Linked DNA regions of Homo sapiens: all the other regions are linked to region 1. Evidence: promoter capture Hi-C in human tissues and cell types (Jung and others, 2019). All regions are on one chromosome and are shown on one strand. The core of a region is centred on a gene start or on the middle of the fragment in contact, and the rest is flanking DNA. Distances in the headings are between cores, read along the strand shown.

Region 1 (4,426 bases), core at 1,267-3,766:
AGAGGGGAGCAGAGGCTGAGGAGTTAGCTGTTTCCAGACAGGGTGGCACCCTGGAGTGAGCGGGTGGTGGGGGCGCGCCAGGATGGTCCTGTTTCCAGATGGGGTCTCAGGCTCTTTCCCCAGGGCCTGACTGATGCCTCCAACAGTCCGAAAGTTTGCCTGGGCCCACACTGAGTCTGGTGACAAAATGGTTAGGCACAGTTCCAGTGGCTTTTACGCTGAAGAATTCAGAACATTCTCTCAGAAAATGAGGCCTTTTGTCATCTAACCCAAAGAAAATTAAGCGGGTGGATGGCTAGAAAGAGTTCATCTCCAGGGGGGACCCTGAAATCCTTTATATTCTTCCCGGTTTTCTAGGGAACCATCCCCTACATAGATGCCCCAGGCATCTGGGGCTTTTCTGGCAGCTGAAGCTGCCTTCAGAAGGCCAGGGTTATTTTCCAGTTCTGGGGAAGGTAAGTTCTAGTTCCACCTAAGTCAAAGCCCAGCCCTTTCCTTCTCCCCACCCTTCCCCACTCCAGCCATCTCTAAAAGCAAAAAAAAAAAAAAAAAAACCGGTTTTCCATTTTAAATTATTTTATTGTATATTAAAAAACCAAATAAAGCAATAACTTTAAAGACCTCAGACACACACAGTATAAACACCTGGGTAAGGTTTTGTTCGTGTCCATGTTGACACCGGAACTACCGTTAAAGTGCAAGTTTTGTTTTGTGTTCCTTTGTGCAGTTTCACTCACATGTAAACAAGTCACTTGGCTATGATTTGACCCACGCCCCCCCGCTTAGTTTTGGGAGGGCAGAGGCTCTACCGGCTGTCACAGCAACCCGGAATCACAGACAAGATAATGCCCCGTGGGTCCTGACCCTCAAGCGGGCATGACGGTTTCTTGAAGCCTAGCAGAGGCTGGATAACTTCACATCCCTCCCCCACCCCGCGCTCACTCTTAGGTCTTTGAGAAGATAAATCCACCCTCGGCTGGGCCCTCGCTCCCAAAGTTATGGGGGTGGCGGGCCTCAATGGGGGACCGGGGGTGGGGAATAGTCCCAGTCTTGGCCCGTTCTCTTTCCTTCCGGAGCAGATGACCGTCCCTTCTCGGTTCAGTGGCGCCTCCCCAGTGCTGGGGGCGGATCGCCGGGAGGGGAGACGCCAGTCCGCGCGCGCTCCCGGCCTGGGGCGCACCGGGCCGTTGGATTTGACTTAACAAAAAGGTCCTCCTTAGGTTGTGTCGCCAGCGCGGCGGGGCTCCTAGCTGATGACGCAGCGCTCCTTGTCCTTGGCCTGGCTGCCGGCGCTGGCCTTCTCGCGGATGTACATGAGGTCGCTGTGTACGCTGGGCCGGCGCGCGAAGGGTGCCACGATGCCAAAGGCGTCGCCCGGGTCGCCGCCGCCGCCGCCGCTGCCGGCCCGCAGCAGCTTCTTGTTCCGCAGCGCCTTCTTGTGCAGCACGTCGCAGTACTGCACCGAGACCTTGCGGTGCAGGTCTGGGCTCATCTCGCTGGGCAGCTTGGCCATGGCGAAGAGCGCGCGGAACATCTGGTCCAGGCTGCTGTTCTTCTTGGCCGAGATCTCGAAGTAGGCGCAGCGCTGGGGGTCGTCGCCCACCAGCTGCTCGATCTCGCGCTGGTCCACCTCGCGGTAGAAGTCGCGGTCACCCTTGTTGCCGCAGATGACCAGGGGCACGTCCACGTTCTCCTTGGTTTTGTTCTTGAGGCAAGACTTGGTGTCGAGGATCTGCTGCCTGAGCCGCTGCACCTCCTCGAAGGAGTCGCGGTTGTCCAGACTGAACACCAGGATGAAAACGTCTCCTAGAGGGGGCACAGAGAGCAGAAAAGGAGAAGGTGAGGGTGGCCGCCCAGGGGACAAGTCGGGCTGACTTTGAGGCCGCGCGGGGCGCGCTAGCCTCTCTAAGCGCGAAGCGCACTACTCGGCGCGCGGCAGCCGGACCGGCGCTCGCGGGGCGCCCTGGCCGAGGGTTCCCCGCCCTTCCCTCCCGCACCTGCCCGGCCCCCGGCTCACCTGTGAGGATGGAGAGGCGCCGCATGGCGGGGAACGGGTGGTTGCCGGACGTGTCGAGGATGTCGAGCTGGTAGACCTCGCCGCGGATGGAGTAGAACTTGCGGTGGAAGTCCTCGATGGTAGGCGTGTAGGCGTCCTCGAAGCGGCCGGTGAGGAAGCGCGACACGATGGCCGTCTTGCCCACCTTGGACGAGCCGAGGATGACCATGCGATAGCAGTTCTTGGCCGGGATACTCAGCTCCGAGTCGCTCGGGCACATCTTCTTGATCATCGCGGCCAGTTTCATTGGGCAGAGGGGCCGCGAGGGCGGGCGCGGGGCCGAGAGAAGGGCAGAGAGCGGCTGAGGGTCGCTGGGGTGGCACGCGGGGTGAGCGGCTGGAGGGCTCTGCTCGGGCTGGGCGCGGCTCGGGCTTGGGGCTCCGGCTCCGCTCGGGCTGGGCTCGGGCTAGGCTGGGCTCGGCTGGGGTTCTCCCAGGATCTGGGCACAGGCCGCTTGCTCTGGCTTTGGCGCCCGGCCGCCGCCCTTATATGCAGCCTGCTCGGCTGCCCCGCCCCGGCCCTCCCAGCTCGGTGCGTCACGCCCCGCGGGGCCCGCCTCCCCCGCACCGGCTCCCAGTCCCGGCGACCTCGTCACCCGCTGCCGGGCTCCTGCTCTCTGGGCGCGGGGGCTGGGGGGAGCAGTCCAGGGTCGGGCTGAGGCTGGAGGCGCTCGGACTCCGCTTTTCCACTGCCGCGGGCTCGGCGGCCGCAGGGGCGTCGGGGTTCTGGTCCCGGCGGTGCCCCTGTCCCTCTGCGACTTCGGGCAAGGACCCCCATTCCTGCACCTCCCGCGCGCGTACACTTATTTTCTTTGGTTCTCAGTTTCCCCAGAGAATAGGAATCTAGTAAGTAACCCAGTAAGCGCAGCAGCGTTTGCTGAGTGCTTGCGCGGACCGTATATTGCAGTCCTCAGAGCACAGCCCCAGCCCCAGCCCCCTTCCGCTCCGGTCCCCAGCCGGGCTCTTGTTCCCGGGAGGCGACCGCCGGGCGGACGCGGGGTTTCAGGGCCTCAGGCGCGGAGCTCGGCACCGCGCGCTCGGGCCGCCAGAGGGCAGCAGAGGGCCCGGCCGGCGGCTCGGGGAGGCTGTGGCCGCCGCGGGCAGAGCTAGAACAGAGGCTAGGAGCAGGCGGGTGGGGAGCGGCAGGGATGGAGCAGGGGTCTCAGGGCGCCTTGCTGGGGCCCAACAGGAGCGGTCCCCAACCCCGCGCTCTGCTGCAGGCCTCAGCCTGCTCCTTTCTCCCAGCCAGAGATGCTCTGTGGTATGGAGGGCTCTGCAGCCAGCGGCCCACCCCGTCCATCATAGCATTTTGGGCTTTTACTGTGCCGCGCGTGGGCCGACGTTCTCATTGTCTAGCTGAGAGACCTGGAGCTCAAAGCCACAGCGAGCCAGGAAGGCCCTGGGAGCACAGCACAGCCTCTTGCTTTCTCCTGGGCCTCAGTTTTCTCTTCTGGAAGATACTGATTCTGGTTCTGTGATTAAGGATGAAAATATGCAAATGCTTTAGGAGGGCGGGGCCTGGTAATAACAATAGCAACAATAACAGTAGTATTGACCCATGAGGCCTGGTGGGGGTACTCTCAAGAGCACACCAGGTCGATCAGTAACCAGGAGTGGGGTGATGTTGCTGAACATTGGCAACAGGCTGTCTGGAGCCAGCTCCTCAGCCCTGAGCTCTTGAGGCAGTCACTGCTCCTCAAGGCAACCTGTGTGCTCAGTGTTTTGCTTTGGCCACGTCTGACTTACGAGAAAACTAGGGAGCCATTAGCTGGCACCACCGGCCCAGCTGTCAGGTGGTGGTCTGCAGGCAGTGCTGTGAGTGCCATACCACCCACCCCATGCCTACCCACCTCCCTCCCACGCTGGCACTTGCTGTAGGGGCTGCTGCAGGACACCACTAACTTGTTTCTCAGCCCAGCTTGGCCCCCATCCTCAGAGTCCCTGCATCTCTCCCAGGCCTCACTCTTACTGTCAGATATTTCAAATGCACGCATCACACAGTGAGCATCCAAGGGCTCATCAGTGGCCCTGGCCTGGCTCTGATTCCTGGTGTCACTTATGCAGCAGTTATCCGACAGGCTAGCTGGGGCTGGAGCCCCGCCATTCTTGGTTCCTGCCCCCATCTGAGGTATGTCTGCCAGAGTCTGGGAGAAGGGGAGAAGGAACTGAGTCGCAGCCCTGGATATAGGGCTGCAGTGGTGCAGGGTGTTCACTGCATAAAGGAGCCAGTTGAGGGTACATGGGGGGGCTCAGTTAAGGTACGGACCTGAACCACCTTCAGACTGAGCACCGCCTTCCTGTGCCTCCCACAGCGGCACTGCATGGGCAGCCGGGCTCTAACTTGGGATGACTGATGGCCAGGGCTATAGTG
Region 2 (4,426 bases), core at 938-3,437, 120 kb before region 1:
TGCTTAAAATCTCCCAGGAAAAATGGCTTAGATGGCATGGCTCAGACTTCTCCTGTATATGCACCTAGAAATACTGAATCGTTCCACCTGGAGGTCTTGCAGGCCCCTCCATCTCTATGGGGCCAACGTGGAACTTGCCTCTTCTTTCGTCTGGTCAACACCAGTCATGATTTTTGGCTGGCTGGCATTTTTGAACCCCTTTGTATGTCTGGGGAATCTCCCTCATGCTGGGCCAGAAATGTGCTTCCCAGGGCCCCTTGCACCTAGACGTGCACACGGGAGCTGGTAGGCAGGACAGTCACTGGCCCTGCATGAGGATCTGTAGACACCATGTGAGCCGCCCTGGCCAGGTGGCTGCTGAGACGCCAAGGGTCCAGTGGCAACCACAGCATCTGGCCCCAGTGCTGGTGGTATGCTCTTCTGGGCTGGGATTTGCATGGACCTCTGGCTGCAGGCCTGCCCTCCGGGCCATTTGAAGACCCTGTGAGCTGACTCTATCCTTCATTAATCCTTCACATGCCTAAACTGCCTGGCATGGGTTGCAAGGAGGAACCTTGACTGATACCTGCCTCCTCCCCAAGCTTACTCCTCCTCTGTTTCCATCGGAAACATCCCTCCCCTTGCCCAAGTGTGAAGCCCAGCAGTCACCCTGTCTCCTCTCTCCCTCCCCAGTTCCAATCCCCCAGTCTTACTGACAACTCTGCTTCCTACCTCTACAGCTCTGGAAGTGTCAGAGACGTTTGAACCAAAGCAACTCCATCTTGAATAGGAGCTGGGTAAAATGAGGCTGAAACCTACCGTGCTGCATTCCCAGACAGTTCAGGCATTCTAAGTCACCCTTTGTGTGTCTGAGGAATCTCCCTCATACTGGGCCAGAAACGTACTTCCCAGGGCCCCTTGCATCTAGATGTGCACATGGGAGCTGGTGGGGAGGACAGTCACCAGCTTATCATCACAGGATAAGATAGGAGGTCAGCATGAAATATAGGTCATAAATACCTTGCTGATAAAACAGGTTGCAGTAAAGGAGCCGGCCAAAACCCACCAAAACCAAAATGGCGACAAGAGTGACCTCTGGTCATTCAATGTTTGGGAGCCTTGCACACTCGCCTGGCTCCCCACGTGGCAATCATTCTGTCTGCCTTCAGGCTCCTGCACAAGCTGATGCTTCTACCTGGAGTTTTACTCCACTCTCTCCCTCCTTCCACCCCTACTTGGCCTTGGCTCTCAGCTTCTGGGAAAAGTCATTTCCAAACCTCCCCTCAGAGTAGTCATCTCTCCACAGCCCTCTGTGTTTCTGGGGGCTGTTAGGCATGGTGGCTGCCTGCTCATTCTTTGACACTTTCTTTAACACTTAGGAGCTCTGCAGCCCTGGGCAAGTTACTGAATCTCTCTGGGCCATCTTTATGTCTTCATTTATAAAATAAGGTTTGTGAAAGGAGAATAAATCTCAGGATCCCCAAATCACTAAGCCAAAGGGAAAAGTCAAGCTGGGAACTGTGTCAGGCAAACCTGCCTCCATTCTATTCCTAAATAAGATGGCTACAAAGATTGAAAAAAAAAAAGCCTACATGCCACATTTTCTTTCTTTCTTTTTTTGAGACGGAGTCCCGCTCTGTCGCCCAGGCTGGAGTGTAGAGGCGCGATCTCGGCTCACTGCAACCTCCGCCTCCAGTTCAAGTGATTCTCCTGCCTCAGCCTCCCGAGTAGCTGGGACTACAGGCGCCCGCCACCACGCCCAGCTAATTTTTGTATTTTTAGTAGAGACAGGGTTTCACCATGTTGGCCAAGATGGTCTCAATCTCCTGACCTTGTGATCTGCCCACCTTGGCCTCCCAAAGTGCTGGGATTACAGGCATGAGCCACTGGGCCCAGCCCACTTTCTTTATCCTAATGAATAGCTAATAGATGCTGGTCTTAATACCTGAGTGATGGGTTGATCTCTGCAGCAAACCACCATGGCACACGTTTACCTATGTAACAAACCTGCACATCCTGCACATGTACCCCAGAACTTAAAATAAAAGTTGAAGAAAAAAAAGCTACATACCTCCCTCACAACTTGCCCACAAGGAAATTCCTTGGATGAGGGACGGACAGAGCTCAAAGCCATCCTTCTGCCCACCGGAGACAAATGCACCTCTGATCGCCTCCTTTGCCCTGTTGTTTCACTGAGCCAGACTAAGGTATCAGTGACTATTCCTCTACCCTCCTCTCACAGGTAAATTGTGTATTCAGTGAAAGGCTAATCAGAGACCCCAAAGAATGCAACTGTTTGTCTCTTATCTACCTATGATCTGGAAGTCCCTCCCCGGCCTCGAGTTGTCCCTGCTTTCAGGACCGAACCAATGTACATCTTACACATACTGACTGACGTCTTCTCTCTCCCTGAAATGTATGAAACCAAGAGTGCCCTGACCACCTTGTTGTCAGAACCTCCTGAGGCTGTGTCACGGATGCGTGATCATAGCACCATCTTAGCTCCTTAACCTTAGCAAAATAAACTTCCCAAATCGACTGAGACCTGTCTCAGATAGTTTTTGGTTCACAGGTTCACCACATGTGCAGCCTCCACCCTTCTCCAGGCTGTTCTGGATGCTGCCCCTTCAGCCTGCATTTCCCTGTCTCTGGCTTCCCAGCACAGACTGGGGATGGGAGGGAGGGGGATGTATCTGCTTGGGACCGGCCTCTCACAGGGTCACAATGGGGCAGCCCTGGGGGTAGTAGCTGCCCACTGCTGCTGCCCTTTGGGGGCCTCCACGCCTCTTGGCTGTTCCCTTACCTCTGCCTAGGGCAGTGCAAATGCCGGCAGGCCTGCTTATTACACTTCGCTTCATTGCTGTTTGCAGATACTGCATTGTTTTTACAAGATTGGAGGTTTGGCTGGGCATGGTGGCTCAGGCCTGTAATCCCACCACTTTGGGAGGCTGAGGCAGGTGGATCACCTGAGGCCAGGAGTTTGAGACCAGCCTAGCCAACATGATGAAAACCCATCTCTACTAAAAATACAAAAATTAGCCGAGCGTGGTGGCGGGCACCTGTAATCCCAGCTACTTGGGAGGCTGAGGCAGGAGAATCGCTTGAACCCGGGAGGCAGAGATTGCAGAGTGCTGAGATCGTGCCACTGCACTCTAGCATGGGTGACAGAGTGAGACTCCGTCCCAAAAAAAAAACAAAAAAAACAAAAAAAACAAAAAAACAAGAACAGATTGGAGGTTGGCGGTGGCCCAGCATCCAGCAAGTCTATCGGTGCCATTTTTTCCAGCAGCGTGGGTTCACTTTGTGTCTCTGTGTCACATTTTGGTAATTCTCACAATATTTCAAACTTTGTCATTATTATTGTGTCTGTTATGGTGATCTGTGGCCAGTCCTCTTGGATCTTACTATTGTAATTGTTTGGGGGCACCATAAACCAATAAGAAAGTGAACTAATGTGTTGCATATGTTCCAACTAGTCCACCAACTGGCTGTTCTCTGTCTTTTTCTCCTCGGGCCTCCCTATTATCTGAGACACAACAATATCGAAATTAGGCCAACTAATAAGTCTACAATGGTCTCTAAGTGTTCAAGTGAAAGGAATAGTTTTGGGTCTCTCACTTTATGTATTTATTTTTGAGACAGGGTCTCGGTCTGTTGCCCAGACTGGAGTGCAGTGGTGCGATCATAGCTCACTGCAGCCTCGAACTCCTGGGCTCAAGCGATTCTCCTGCCTCACCCTCCCAAAGTGTGGGGATTACAGGCATGAGCCACCATACCTGATGTCTGTCACTTTAAATCAAAAGCTAGAAATGATTAAGCTTAGTGAGGAAGGCCTGTTGAAAGCCAAGATAGGCTGAAAGCTAGGCCTCTTGTGCCAAACACTTAGCCAAGTTGTGAAGGCGAAGGAAAAGTTCTTGAAGGAAATTAAAATGCTACTCCAGTGAACACACAAATGATAAGAAAGTGAAACAGTCTTATTCCTGGTATGGAGAAAGTTTGAGCGGTCTGGAGAGATCAAACCAGCCACAATATCTCTTAAGCCAAAGCCTAATCCAACGCAAGGCCCTAACTCTCTTTAATTCTATAAAGGCTGAGAGAGGTGAGGAAGCTGCAGAAGAAAAGTTGGAAGCTAGCACGGGTTGGTTCATGAGGAATGAAACCACTCCATATTAAGGAATGAAACCCACTCCATAACATAAAAGTGCAAGGTGAAGCAGCAAGTGCTGATGGAGAAAACTACAGCAAGTTCTCCAGAAGATCTAGTGGAGATCACCGATGAAGGTGGCTGCACTAAACAGCAGATTCTCAGTGAGGATGAAAGAGCACTCTATTGGAAGAAGGTGCCATCTAGGACTTTCATAGCTAGAGTACAGAAAGTCAATGCCTGGCTTCAAAGCTTCAAAAGGATAGTATAACTCTTGTTAGGGGCTAATGCAACTGTCATTTA
Region 3 (4,426 bases), core at 861-3,360, 90 kb after region 1:
AGTGAACCAGCTGCCAAGCTCTGGCAAGGGACTTGCAGGAGGCAGAACAGAGTGCTGATGAGACAAGGACGCCCGTGCCACGGCGGGCAGCCATCTCCCCTCGCTGAGCACCGCTTCCTAGCCTGGGAGGTGGGAATGGTAGAGGTGCCATGGGACGCCAGGAGGATTAAATGAGAAAGTGCAAGGAAAGCACTCAGCGCAGTGCCTGGCGGGGGGCATGGCTAGACAGACGCTGGCTGTGACAACTGTGTCATCGAGTCCTGGTGACAACCCTGCGAGGCATGCCCACTCTTCAGATTAAGAACTGAGGTGAGTGGCCAGGCGCGGTGGCTCACGCCTGTAATCCCAGCACTTTGGGAGGCCAAGACAGGTGGATCACCTGAGGTCAGGAGTTCAAGACTAGCCTAGCCGATATGGTGAAACCCCGTCTCCACTAAACATACAAAAATTAGCCGGGCGTGGTGGCAGGCGCCTGTAATCCCAGCTACTCTGGAGGCTGAGGCAGGAGAATCGCATGAACCTGGGAGGCGGAGGTTGCAGTGAGCTGAGGTCATGCCACTGCACTCCAGCCTGGGCGACAGAGCGAGAATCCATCTCAAAAACAAACAACAACAACAAAAAGAAGTGAGGTGAGGTATGAAGCAAAAGCTGACAGAACTAAAGGGTGGAAAAGACAAATCCACAGTTCTTGTTAGGGCCCTCCATGGTCCTCTCAGTGACTGAGAGAATCAAAGCAGTGGACAAGAAGGCTGCTGGAGCTGGCAAGGTCACCAAGTCTGCCCAGAAAGCTCAGAAGGCTAAATGAATATTATCCCTAATACCTGCCACCCCGCTCTTAATCAGTGGTGAAGAACGTCTCAGAACTGTTTGTTTCAATTGACCATTTAAATTTAGTAGTAAAAGACTGGTTAATGATAACAATGCATCATAAAACCTTTAGAAGGAAAGGAAAATGTTTTGTGGACCACTTTGGTTTTCTTTTTTGCCTGTGGCAGTTTTAAGTTATTAGTTTTTAAAATCAGTACTTTTGAATGGAAACAACTTGACCAAAAATTTGTCGGGCCGGGCGCGGTGAGTCATGCCTGTAATCCCAGCACTTTGAGAGGCTGAGGCGGGCGTATCATGAAGTCAGGAGATCGAGATCATCCTGGCTAACACGGTGAAACCCCGTCTCTACTAAAAAATTAAAAAAATTAGCTGGGCGTGGTGGCAGGCGCCTGTAGTCCCAGCTACTCGGGAGGCTGAAGCAGGAGAATGGCGTGAACCCGGGAGGTGGAGCTTGCAGTGACCCAAGATGGCGCCACTGCACTTCAGCCTGGGCGACAGAGCGAGACTCCGTCTCAAAAAAAAAAAAAAAATTGTCACAGATTTTTGAGACCCATTAAAAAAAATCTAATGAGAAAGAAAGAAAGAAAAAGAAAGAGAAAAAGAAAGAAAGAAAAAGAAAAAGAAGGAAGGAAAGAAAGAAAGAAAGAAAAAGAAAGAAAGAAAGAAAGAAAGAAAGAAAGAAAGAAAGAAAGAAAGAAAGAAAGAAAGAAAGAAAGAAAGAAAAAAAAAAACGCAGGTGGAAAATCGGGAGGACGCAGCTGACCTGAGCAGCGCCATCCAGTGGCTGGACCTGACCACAGCACATGGCAGCCTTGGGAACAGCCTGCAGTCTCTGGTGTCACCAAAACAGATCACACTTGGGGCCACCAAACAAACCTTAAATTTAAACGAATAGAAAGCATACACAGTATGCTCCCAAACCACCACAGAATTAAACTCGAAATCAGTCACAGAAAGCGATCGTGGAAAGAATGCACGCGAGGGCCAAATGGGAAGTCTTGGGAAATCTAGAAACATTTTGAACTGAATGAAAATGAGAATAGAACACATGAAACCCTGTGGGATGCGGCTAAGGCAGGGCTTCTATTAGTAAGGAAGAAAAGTCCCAGGTCAGGAATATAAGCTTTGCCCTTAAGAAATTACAGAAAGAGTGGCTGGGCGCAGTGGCTCATGCCTATAATCCCAGTACTTTGGGAGGCTGAAGCAGGCAGATTACTTGAGGTCAGGAGTTCAAGACCAGCCCGGCCAACATGGTGAAACCCCATCTCTACTAAATATACAAAAATTAACCAGGCGTGGTGGAGGGCGCCTGTAATCCTAGCTACTTGGGAGGCTGAGGCAGGAGAATTGCTTGAACCCGGGAGACGGAGGTTGCAGTGAGCCGAGATTGCACCACTGCATTCCAGCCTGGGCAACAGAGGAAGACTCCGTCTCAAAAAAAGAAAGAAAGAAATTAGAGAAAGAGGAATGAGTTAAACCCAAAGGAGGCAGGACAAAAAATTAAAGATAAGCAAAAATCAATCAAATTGAAAACAGGAAAACAATAGAGAAAAAAAAATTACACCCAAAGCTGGTTCTTTGGGGAAAATTTATTTTCCCAATAAAACTGAGAAACCTCCAGCCAGCCTGACCAAGAAAAAAAGAGAAAAGACACAAAATATCAATATCAGAAATAAAAGGGGGGACTTCTCTACTGACCTCACAAACATTAAAGTAATAATAAGGGAATACTATGAATAACACAAATTAAGTAACTTAGATGAAATGAACCGATCCTTGCAAGACACAACTGTCAAAATTCATTCAAGAAATAATCCTTTATCTTTTAAAGGATTTGAATTTATGGCTTAAAAACCTAAAAAAAGAAAGCCTTGAGCCCAGATGGTTTCCTGGATGAATTCTGCCTAACATTTAAGGAAAAAATAATTCCAATTCCACACAATCTCTTCCAGAATATGGAAGAGGGAGGCAATACTTCCCAACTCACTGTATTACCCTAACACTAAAACCAGGCCGGGTGCAGTGGCTCACCGCCTGTAATCCCAGCATTTTGGGAGGCCAAGGTGGGTGGATCACTTAAGGTCAGGAGTTTGAGACCAGCCTGGCCAACAACCCTGTCGCTACTAAAAATACAAAAAACAAAACAAAACAAAACAAAAACCAGGTGTGGTGGTAGGTGCACCTGTAATCCCAGCTACTCGGGAGCCTGAGGTGGGGGAATTGCTTGAACTCGGGAGGCGGAGGTTGCAATGAGCTGGTATCACGCCACTGCATTCCTGAGTACATGCCTGAGCAACAGAGCGAGACTCTGTCTTAAAATAAATAAATTAATTAAATCAAATGAAACCAGATAAAGAAAGAAGATCCCCCCAAAAATTAGAGCAAATCAAATCCAGCAATATATACAAAGGATAATATGTTAGGACCAGCCAGAGATCACCCCAGGAATCCAGAGCTAGTTCAACATTCAAAACATCAATGGAATTCATATTTACAGCTTAATGAGGAAAAACAGTGTCATCTCAACAGAGGCAGGGGAAACAAGCTCCAAGAGTTTCTGTCATTGTTTTGATGAGCAGCCACGGAAAGCCTCAACCCTGCTCTGTCTTGGCTGATGCCAAAATTACTGAAGACAAAATGTACGGCCTTGAAAACACCACAGAGTAACTCATCTAATATAACGGCCTAATGTTTATTTCAACTAAAGTAATACAATCAAAAGATTTTTGGAAACGATTTTGGATAAAGGCAAACATTTTTCCCTGAAAGGCAGTCAAGATACCCCGCATCGGCCATCGGAGCTTTGCCTCCAGGGTCTTACTCGGGTGCCCATATTACACACAGGGACCTGTGTCCCCTGCCCCAGGTCTCTCAGCCTTCTGAATACAAGGGCTTTGCCTTCTTGAGGACCACCCTTAGGTGGGCTGCACTCGATACTTCATAAAGCTTTACACCCCTCATCTCATTCTGGTCTTCACCATAACCCCCTCACTGTCCCCATTCTTCTTGACACCAACACCAAGCTGGAGACATCATCACTCACCCGCTCTGGTGAGCAGGTGATTCGCTATGGAAAAGGGACCTGAGACCTGGGCATGTGCCCTTGCTCTGAGGACCTCAGTGTGCTCTGCCAGCCTGGGTGCCCGCACCCCTAGGCCCTACTGGAGTCATCTTCTGAATCCTGGAGGTGCCCCGGCCTGTGGACAGCAAGATGCAGACCCTGCTCTCATCCATCTGCCACCCCACTGCCTTCAGGCAGCTGCCCAGCTGAGGAGCAAGGCTCCAGAATCCTGACAGGGAGGGCAACAAGGAGCAAAAGGGCCTTAGTCAGTGGGGCTGCAGCGGGCACACTCCTCACCCTAACTCCTCAGCCCAATGGCTGATTCTTTGGGTTGTTTGTTTTTGTTTTGAGACAGAGTTTCGCTCTTCTAGCCCAGGCTGGAGTGCAATGGCGTGATATCAGCTCACTGCAACCTCCACCTACGGGGTTCAAGTGATTCTCCTGCCTCAGCCTCCCGAGTAGCTGGGATTACAGGCATGTGCCGCCACGCCTGGCTAACTTTTTATATTTTTAGTAGAGATGGGATTTCTCCATGTT

What was found. The method cuts DNA at HindIII sites, captures the fragments that hold promoters and counts their contacts. A contact is called where the count stands out against the background at its distance.
Region 2: a fragment that was not itself captured here is called in contact with the fragment with the promoter of RASD1 in region 1 in 2 of the 25 tissues and cell types used here (H1 embryonic stem cells and spleen).
Region 3: a contact is called between a fragment that was not itself captured here and the fragment with the promoter of RASD1 in region 1, in 9 of the 25 tissues and cell types used here (H1 embryonic stem cells, IMR-90 fibroblasts, aorta and 6 more).

Annotation. Positions count from the first base shown.
Region 1 is chr17:17,493,879-17,498,304 of GRCh38, forward strand. It overlaps RASD1 (ras related dexamethasone induced 1), which reads right to left and starts at 2,517. Exons shown (of 2, transcript NM_016084.5): 1 at 2,018-2,517; 2 at 559-1,806. The coding sequence starts at 2,303. The coding sequence ends at 1,247. RefSeq lists silencers at 2,448-2,667, 2,828-2,957, 3,008-3,237. The HindIII fragment of the contact is 34,145 bases long and covers 1-4,426 here.
Region 2 is chr17:17,370,568-17,374,993 of GRCh38, forward strand. No RefSeq gene overlaps it. Among named protein-coding and RNA genes, the nearest start is that of NT5M, 69 kb to the left of the region's middle. The HindIII fragment of the contact is 3,797 bases long and covers 290-4,086 here.
Region 3 is chr17:17,584,741-17,589,166 of GRCh38, forward strand. The region is part of intron 1 of PEMT (phosphatidylethanolamine N-methyltransferase); the gene reads right to left. It also overlaps the pseudogene EEF1A1P43. Among named protein-coding and RNA genes, the nearest start is that of PEMT, 4.8 kb to the right of the region's middle. The HindIII fragment of the contact is 6,883 bases long and covers 1-4,426 here.